Linked DNA regions of Homo sapiens: regions 1 and 3 are each linked to region 2. The links are contacts of gene promoters, found by promoter capture Hi-C in human tissues and cell types (Jung and others, 2019). All regions are on one chromosome and are shown on one strand. The core of a region is centred on a gene start or on the middle of the fragment in contact, and the rest is flanking DNA. Distances in the headings are between cores, read along the strand shown. Region 1 holds the start of QRFP (pyroglutamylated RFamide peptide). Region 2 holds the start of FAM78A (family with sequence similarity 78 member A). Region 3 overlaps RAPGEF1 (Rap guanine nucleotide exchange factor 1).

Region 1 (2,700 bases), core at 1-2,500, 380 kb after region 2:
AGGGAACCCCACAGGCTTCGAGGTGGTCCACGGACTCCACCCCCAGAGCGGCTTCCTGCACCACCAGCCCCACCACCCTCACGCCTCGCCTCCCTGCATTTACCCGACAGCAGAAAAAGCCTCCAGCGCTGGAAGCCGCCCCGATGGGTACTGCCACTCTTGGACTGATCTAGCCCCGGCCACCCTGTGCATCCAGGCAGCCCAGACCCTGCCTATCTCGGCTGCTGGTGGCAAACAGTGGCACAGTTGTCACCCCCAATTGCTCAAGAGGTGGGGGAACCCAGATGCTTCCAGGGGCCCAGGAAGGGCATCTGAAAGCAATTTTTCCGTCCAGGAGTTCCAGGGGTGGAGGGGACCAGGCAAGTCCCTGGAGTCAGAAGGTTTGGCACCAAATCCAACGCCTGACTGGGCTCCAGGCACCCCGGTCTGAAGGGGGCAGGCGGGGACCTGAGGCTGGGGAACATGTGGGCCACGTGGGGACCCCTCATCCTCACCCCAATATTGCTCCCACCCCAGACCAGCCCCTCACATGCAGGACATTCTGTGACCACCTCTCAGAGCCACAGACCTCAGTCCCGCAAAAGGACTCCGGGCCCTGGTGGTTTCAAAGCAGAACCTTTTCTGGGAGCTCAACATGTCAAACACAGCAAAGTGGGGCTTGGCCTGAGGGGCACAGGGGCGCGTGCAGGGCACAGGGGTGTGTGCGGGGCACAGGGGTGCATGCAGGGCACAGGGGTGCGTGCGGGGCACAGGGGTGCCTGCGGGGCACAGGGGTGCATGTGGGTCACAGGGGTGCCTGCGGGGCAGAGAGGTGCCTGTAGGGCAGAGGAGTGTCTGTGGGGCAGAGGGGTGCGTGTGGGGCAAAGGGGTGCCTGTAGGGCAGAGGGGTAGCCTGTAGGGGAGTGGGGTGCCTGTAGGAGAGGGGTGCCTGCGGGATTGGACCCCATGTTGCCTTCCCCAACTTCCATGGCCATTCCTGAGGAATTCTGCAAAGCACAGCTTGGGAACTTGAACCTCGCTTTACACCAAGGGAGCACTGAGGCACCCAGAGGGCAGGCATCCGGTCCAGGCTCATAGCACGGTAGAGACCCACCCTGGGCGGCACCCCATGGATAACTGGTGCCCGCTGTCAGAATCAACCAGCACTAACCAGGGAGACAGAAGGACACCACACCTCCCGTCTCACGAGCACACACACGTGTACGCACGTGTGCACATACTCATGTGGGGGCATACACACACATGCACACACAGGACAGGGGCACCTCAGGCCATCGGAGGCAGCCCTGGCCTGGGGGATGGAAGCTGGTTCTGGCCAGCAAAGCTCAGTCATCGGCTTCAATCCGCAGACCCTCCGCCCGAACCTGGGCGCTCAGCCCCGAAGTGGAGGATCGAGATTCCAGTGCCTTCCTCAGGTCTCTGGGGAAGTGTCCACAGGCTCTCTATTCCCATGACTTCTGATCCCCCAGCAGCCGGGATGCAGGGGTAGGTCGGCTGGGTGAGGGCCCCTGGAATGGGGGAGGCCCTCTGTGCTCAGTTCCTGACAGTGGTGGGGTGGGGCTGCCTCATCACCCCCCTGCCTGCTCTCAGTGGAGGGAGAATCTCTGCCGGGCAAGGAGCAGAGGCTGGGTCCTCCTGCTGGCCTCCCAGAGGTGACCCTCGGTGACAGTAGGGGGCCACCCAGGGTATGCGGTGGGAGGGGCTGGGGGCCACAGGCAAATGCTCCACTGCTGTCCTGGGCATCTGCCGTGCCCCCTTGGTTGGTTCCTGGGTAACAGGCCGCTGAGGGCTCCACCTGCCGGGGAGGTGCACCTGGCTTAGCCGCGCAGCCCGGTGCCTGTGAAACACGGGCCTCATGGGTGTCTGTGGCTTTCCTGCCCATGAAAGCCATCCTGCAAGCTGGGCAGTAGGTGTGTCGGGTAGATGTCCACCCACCCCATGTCCTCTCCGGAGCGTGAGGTGCCAACCCAGCAAAGGCAGGACCCTTAGGGTGAAGGGTGGGCTTGGAACCCCCGCCAAGGGACTCGAGGGTCTGTGCCCGCAATTTGCAGTTAATGATGCTGTCTGCTCTCCTCCAAAGGGCAGCCCGCCTGCCCTCTCATCAGACTACATCCTGTGTGAGGTTGTTTTTATCAACGCGGTCAGCACTGCCCCTCTTCAACAACAGCGTCCCCAATGGAATCCCAGGGTCAGGAATGCGCAGCAGGCAGTCGGCAGAGCAGCAAGCGCACCGCGGGCCATATAAAGCAGGGAGAGCCCAGGGGCCATGCCTCCTGGACGAGGACCCAGAGCAGCTCTGCCCAGCCCAGCCCCGGAGCCCAGCGATCCACCAGCCAGCCTTCCTGGGAGCAGTCCCAGCCACACGGTGAGCATAGCTGCCCTGTCCCCAGCAGGAACCCCAGCTCAGGCCCTGCCCAGGCAGGAGCCAGGCATGGGCAGTCAGAGGGCACACAGAAGCACAGGGAGGGAGTGCCCGGAGAGGGGACACCAGTGCCTCCCCTGCCAACAGCCCAGAGCAGCACAGATTGGTCACGGCTGCCCTGCCAGGGCTGGGACCCAGCCTCACCCGTGCTTTTCCTGTCCCTTCCTGGCTGTGGGGCCTGAAGCCCTGACTCGCGCTGGGGCCGCCTGTCCCGTGATGAGCATCCCCACTTTCTACCAGATTCTTGAAGGGGTGCATGAACCCCTAAAAGGGGTGAA
Region 2 (2,700 bases), core at 158-2,657:
AAGTTTGACCCGGTTGCCTTTCCGATGCTGCAGCAGAGCGAGGCAGCGCGGGGCGCGCCAGGCGGCAGCGGCGCGGCGGCGGGGCTGAGCGGCGACAGCGCGCTCACAATGATCATAAAATAAAGGAGGCGCGCGGGGTGGGGGCGAGAGAGCCCCGAGCCTCAGCCCTCCGCCCCCGGCCGCCCCCCCGAAGCCCCAAGCCGGGAGGAGGGTGGGGGCCGGGGGCGCCCACGCCGGCCCCAGACTCCAGTAGAGCCAAGGGACAGTGCCCGGGGAAGGGGGTGGGGGCGCCCCAAGAACGTGCCCGCGGCCGGGTCAGGGGCGTCCGGAGAGCGGCTGCCCGGGCCAGCGGAGTGGCCCCCGGGGCAGGTGAGTCGGCGGCGCCGCCCGAGTGGGGGCGTGCGCGCCAAAGTTCCCCGGCAGCGGCGAGCGCGCCCGACGCGTGGGGACCCGGGGCTGCTCGCGGCTGGAGAGGGGCGACAGAGGCGCTTGACGCGGCGGAGCGGGGGCACTATGCCCTCCGAGGGCCGAGGGACCCCAGCCGGGAAAGGGGTGCCCGCCGGATCCGACGGCACTGGTGGGTGGCCCTGCGCCCAGGGAGCCGGAGGGACCGGGGTGGGGAAGGGGCACCTGGCGCTGGCGGCGCGGCGGTGGGGACAGAGCAGGGCAAGTGCTCGCCGCCCCCTGCAGCGGCAGCCGCTCGCCCCCCACCCCGCCCGTCCGGGACGGTATCAGCGGAGATGTCACGGGCGGCTATTATTCGCTGGTGCGCGCGGTCGTGCGGCCGCCACTGACGGGGCGGGCGCGGGGGGCGGGGGCCACCGCCTCCGGGGAGACCGCCCAGAGCTGCGCCGTCAGCTCCGCAGCCCGCGCCCAGCGCACACGCGTCGCCGCCCCCGCGCGCCCCCCGCAGCAAAGTTCGGCTTAACTTTGAGGCTGGCCTTGACGCGCTGTCCCTTCCACCTCCCACCAGGTCCTCGGCGGCCGCGGCGAAGCAGGCGGCGGCGGCCGGAGCGCAGCCCCGGGACCCTGCACGGCGGCCGGCAGCGACAGCGGCGAAGGGACGCGGCGCCCCTGCGTGGGGACGTCCGGCCCGCGCCCGCGAGTGGGCGCCGACGGGGACCCGCGCCGCGCTCCCCCGTCACCGGCGAGCGGCCGGAGCCCTGAGCTCGCCTCCTGGAAGCCGCGGGTCGGCGCTCGCCCCGAGGGCGCCGGGACCTCGGCCGGGTGAACACAAACTGCTCTGCAATTGATTCGACCGCGCCGGGCGGGTGCGGGTGCGGGGCCCGGAGGGAGCGCGTGCGGAAGGCCGGAGGGCAGGAAGTCAGGCTTCTGCCGCGAGGGTGGCGCGGCCGCGCGGGGACAGAGCCTTCCTTATTTATGAGTCTGCCGGCGCTCGCCTGCTTCCTCCGAAGACTTCAGGGAGAGTCTGCGAGCTGCCGTCCCCGCGTGTGAGGCACAGAAGGGCTGGATGTCAGAACCGCATAATTATTCATTAAACTACAAACTTTTTTTAACCCAAAGAATATCGGTGATTTTTGTCCACTGCGAGGAGAAGAAGAGAGAGCCCAGGGCTCATGAAATGCAGCAGAATCCTTATTTATAAACAGGCCGCGGTAGTGATATATGCAACCCCAGTCTACTCAGTGAGTTTTCTATCCTATGGATATCGGTCTTGAGAGTTGAGATTGGAGAGCAGCGCCGTCTGTACTGGGTCCTGCAGCCTCTGTCCTTTCAATGCCTGGTTTTTTCTGTGACTGCTGGCCTTCCCTGGAGATCAGAGCGCTCCTGTATGCCATGGGCTGTATTCAGAGCATCGGAGGCAAAGCCAGAGTCTTCCGGGAAGGGATCACGGTGATTGATGTGAAAGCCTCCATCGACCCCGTCCCCACTAGCATCGATGAGTCCTCCAGCGTGGTGCTCCGCTACCGGACACCCCACTTCCGGGCCTCGGCCCAGGTGGTCATGCCGCCCATCCCCAAGAAGGAGACTTGGGTAGTTGGCTGGATCCAGGCGTGCAGCCACATGGAGTTCTACAACCAGTACGGCGAGCAGGGCATGTGAGTACGGCCGAGAGCCAGCTCTGGGAACTGCTAGGGATGGCCGAGCTTGGAGGCCTGGTGGGGGGCCGCGGATAGGGGGAAGGTGGAGATACCATGAAGACAGGACGGAGGCCAGAGGGAAGCTTTAGGCAGGTATGCAGGTGGCCTCATTGGCCCGGTGGCTCCCTGAAAAGTTTGCCTGTGGATCCAGATTGGAGTCACGGTCCTGCAATCTACCCTGCCACTGTTCCCCCCGGGTTCCTGTGTCCTTCCCTGCAAGATGCCGAGAAAGCAGAGAGACATTACTCCCAGTGTTTCCTGGCAGAGCAAGTGTGCCGTCCGCCTGAGGAGTGTCTGTGCCATCAGGGGTCACCAGAGAGGCTGCAGGGCTGCCCTCCAGGCCTCTGGCCCTGTGCGGGCCCATGGCAGACATTCAGGCACTCTGCAACTCCCAGACCGGTGTGTTCAGGGCTTTGCGATTGGGCCTCAATTATCTTTCTGGCTTTTACCAGTGTATGCCAGGAGCTGGGGGAGTGCTTCCCCGTTCCAAACGGCACTGTGTTTGAGAGCACAGTTAGTTTTAGAAGCCCGATTTCTTCACAGTGTATCGCTTTCTGTCTCCAAGGCAGAAGACCGCTTTATGCAGACAAGTCCAGTG
Region 3 (2,700 bases), core at 190-2,689, 440 kb before region 2:
GTGATTGCACCACTGCACTCCAACCTGGACAACAGAGGGAGACTGTCTCAAAAAAAAAAAAAAAAAAAAAAGGCAGAGTCTAGAGGACCCCAGAAGACAGAAGAGTGCCTCCCAGACTTTCTGCCTCAGTGCTTTGCTAGGCCTGACCTCCAGGCTGGTCATCGCTTTTGTTTATATTCTGGGCTGAGCTGGAACTCACACTTGGAACATTCCCACAGTGCTTGGCGCTTCCTCGTATTGTTGTATTTTTCTCCAGGAGGGAAGTGACCAACATCAGACTTTCCTCCCAGCAGACAAATTCCATACACAAAGCTTTGTGTGAGCTACCGGGTACCCGCCTGAGAGCCCAGCCTCTGTTTCTTTGGTTCTGGGTGGGTGAGTGTGCACATTACAGGGATCCACGAGCCCTTCCCTTCTGAGCCATTTCTATCTAAAAAAAAAAAAAAATCTCCTTCAAGAAGTGAGCACCGCCTTGCAGGATCCTGACTCAGAGTTCGTCTGGAGCCAACAGCGTCTTGCGTGTAGGGACAGGCACTCCTTAAAATGTTTCCTACTTCAGTGGCCACAATATTACCCCTCTGGCTTATGTCATGTTCCACAATCAAAATATCATTCCTCCTGGAGTCCAGCTACTCGGGAGGCTGAGGCAGGAGGATCACTTGAGCCTAGGAGTTTGAGGCCACCTGGGCAATATAGGGAGACCCTGTCTCTTAAAAAAAAAAATTATTCCTGAGGTACAGATGTTTGTAAGATAAATTTTATTTTAATTATACTAAGAGAATGATTATTTACTAGAATATTGCAGTGGATCTTACTCTGATATGGGGGAGAAAATCCCTAGTGAGGGTAAATAATTTTTTTCAATGTATTGTATCTAAAGCTTGGAGATTTATAGGTAATAATAATAAAAACAGTGACAGCTATTCTCATTGAGTATCTGCTGTGTACCAACAAATTTTAAACATCTTTATTTTAGTTTAGTTTTTTAGAGATGGGTTCTCGCTCTGTGGCCCAGACTGGAGTGCAGTGGTGTGATCACAAATCACTGCAGTCTTGACCTCCTGGGCTCAAATGATTCTCCTGCCTCAACCTCCCACCTCAGCCTCCCAAGTCTGAATTCTTATTTAACCTTTAAACTACCCATGAAGTAGACAGCATAATGGTACACATGAATGTATGTGAAAATACAAGGTGTGGAAAGGTTTAGTTTCTATCCCAAAGTTGTTCAGCTAGGAAGTGCCCCCATAGATTCAAACCAGGCCAGCTGGCCTTCAAAGCCAATTCCTTCACACTGCCCTCCTGCCTCCTCTGGTCATGAGGAAATGGGTAGCAGAGGTTTTCCTAGCCAAGGATAAAGATTTGGGGGCTGGATCCAGCCCTCCAACTAAATGCCTAGCGTTGATCCCTGCCCCTCTCTGAGGAATCTGTGAAATGGGGAAGGGAGTCGCTGGAGCAGATGATCTTGTGGATCTCCTTGGGTTTTACAGAGATTTGAGGCTTGGAGTAGTCATACCTGAAGGAGTGACCTTGATAACACATGGCCAGGTCGGGTCTGATTGAAGGCAGTTCGTACAGCCACAGCGTTCTCGGCGTATTTGTGCAAGGCTTGGAAACTCATCACAGTGGCTGTGCAGTCAGCCTTCTGCTTCTGGTAACAGTTCACTTTTGATTCTTCCCATTTGTGAAGAATCAGAAAAATTTTCTGTTGTCTCCCTGAAATGTGGACTGGAGATGGGTCGCTTGCCCATCTTGGATTGCAAGCATATTGGTCTTTGGGGATGGCTCTATGTTTTTTTGTTTGTTTGCTTAGTCTGGGACACTGCAGAGGGGATGACTGTAAAAGACGCTTTCTGAGCTGGGGATTAGAGAGGAATTCTTAAGATTAGGTTATTCTGTTGCTCTCCCCCTCCCCCTACCCCTGAACAGTTCACATTGGAGTTATTTTGGGGGAGCCATGATTGAGAAGGGTTGGACCACAGGGTCCTCATTTCAAAGCTGTTCTCTCAAGGAAAAATGTCCAGTTCATTCTAAAGGTTCATCAGTATATTAGTTGTTTGGAACCTAGGATGCGTTTTTTCATGGAAACACAGTTACAAATGTGTTGGCCCCCAGCTGAGAAACGAGAGAGGGCACACCTGAGCCCAGGTTCTGTAACTGTGACCCATTGTTGTCTGTGTGCACAGGCGCCAGGAGGAGCTGCCCCAGACACGGCTCCTGACTTCAGGGGCTTCGCACTCCTGATAGGGAAGAAATTCCAGGGCCCAGAGTGGCCTGAGCTAAGGAGTGGGGAAGTGGAGGAAACAGCGCCCCAGCCGCCCATACCCTCTGACTCTTGCTAGGAGAGGAGAGGTTGTTTATGGATTAGAAACTCTGGTTAATGCATTCCAGGGGGTGGGGACAATCAGTGTGTGTATGTTGGGGATAATTCTCATTGGTTTATTCTGTCACCTATCCACTCATTTATTCAACAGAGAGTTATTAAGCACCTACTGTGTGCCAGGTATTCTGCTGTGCAACTGTTAGTTTTCACTGGACCCCTCTCGCGTGGTGGGGGTTCCCTGTGCTTTATTCCAGTTTGTGGCTGCAGTTTAATCTGGGGAGGAGCTTGCGGGCTCTGTGAGGGAAACAGGGAGCCTCTGCACCCATGCTCTTTCCTGCCACCTCATTGGAGACGGTGCGACAGACACATGCCATTTGCTT

Evidence for each region. Contacts are between HindIII fragments. The study calls those that stand out against the background at their distance.
Region 1: the fragment with the promoter of QRFP here is called in contact with the fragment with the promoter of FAM78A in region 2 in 2 of the 25 tissues and cell types used here (bladder and liver).
Region 3: a fragment that was not itself captured here is called in contact with the fragment with the promoter of FAM78A in region 2 in 1 of the 25 tissues and cell types used here (dorsolateral prefrontal cortex).

What each region holds. Positions count from the first base shown.
Region 1 is chr9:130,895,362-130,898,061 of GRCh38, reverse strand. QRFP (pyroglutamylated RFamide peptide) reads left to right here and starts at 1,250. Exons shown (of 3, transcript NM_198180.3): 1 at 1,250-1,485; 2 at 2,081-2,365. RefSeq lists enhancers at 1,755-2,441, 2,442-2,700. The HindIII fragment of the contact is 19,380 bases long and covers 228-2,700 here.
Region 2 is chr9:131,275,217-131,277,916 of GRCh38, reverse strand. It overlaps FAM78A (family with sequence similarity 78 member A), which reads left to right and starts at 1,407. Exons shown (of 2, transcript NM_033387.4): 1 at 1,407-2,060. The coding sequence starts at 1,738. RefSeq lists a silencer at 58-1,237 and enhancers at 1,878-2,377, 2,538-2,587, 2,618-2,667, 2,080-2,692, 2,678-2,700. The HindIII fragment of the contact is 9,704 bases long and covers 1-2,700 here.
Region 3 is chr9:131,712,077-131,714,776 of GRCh38, reverse strand. All of the region lies in intron 1 of RAPGEF1 (Rap guanine nucleotide exchange factor 1), which reads left to right. Among named protein-coding and RNA genes, the nearest start is that of RAPGEF1, 27 kb to the left of the region's middle. RefSeq lists enhancers at 1,708-2,207, 2,208-2,700. The HindIII fragment of the contact is 4,070 bases long and covers 1-2,700 here.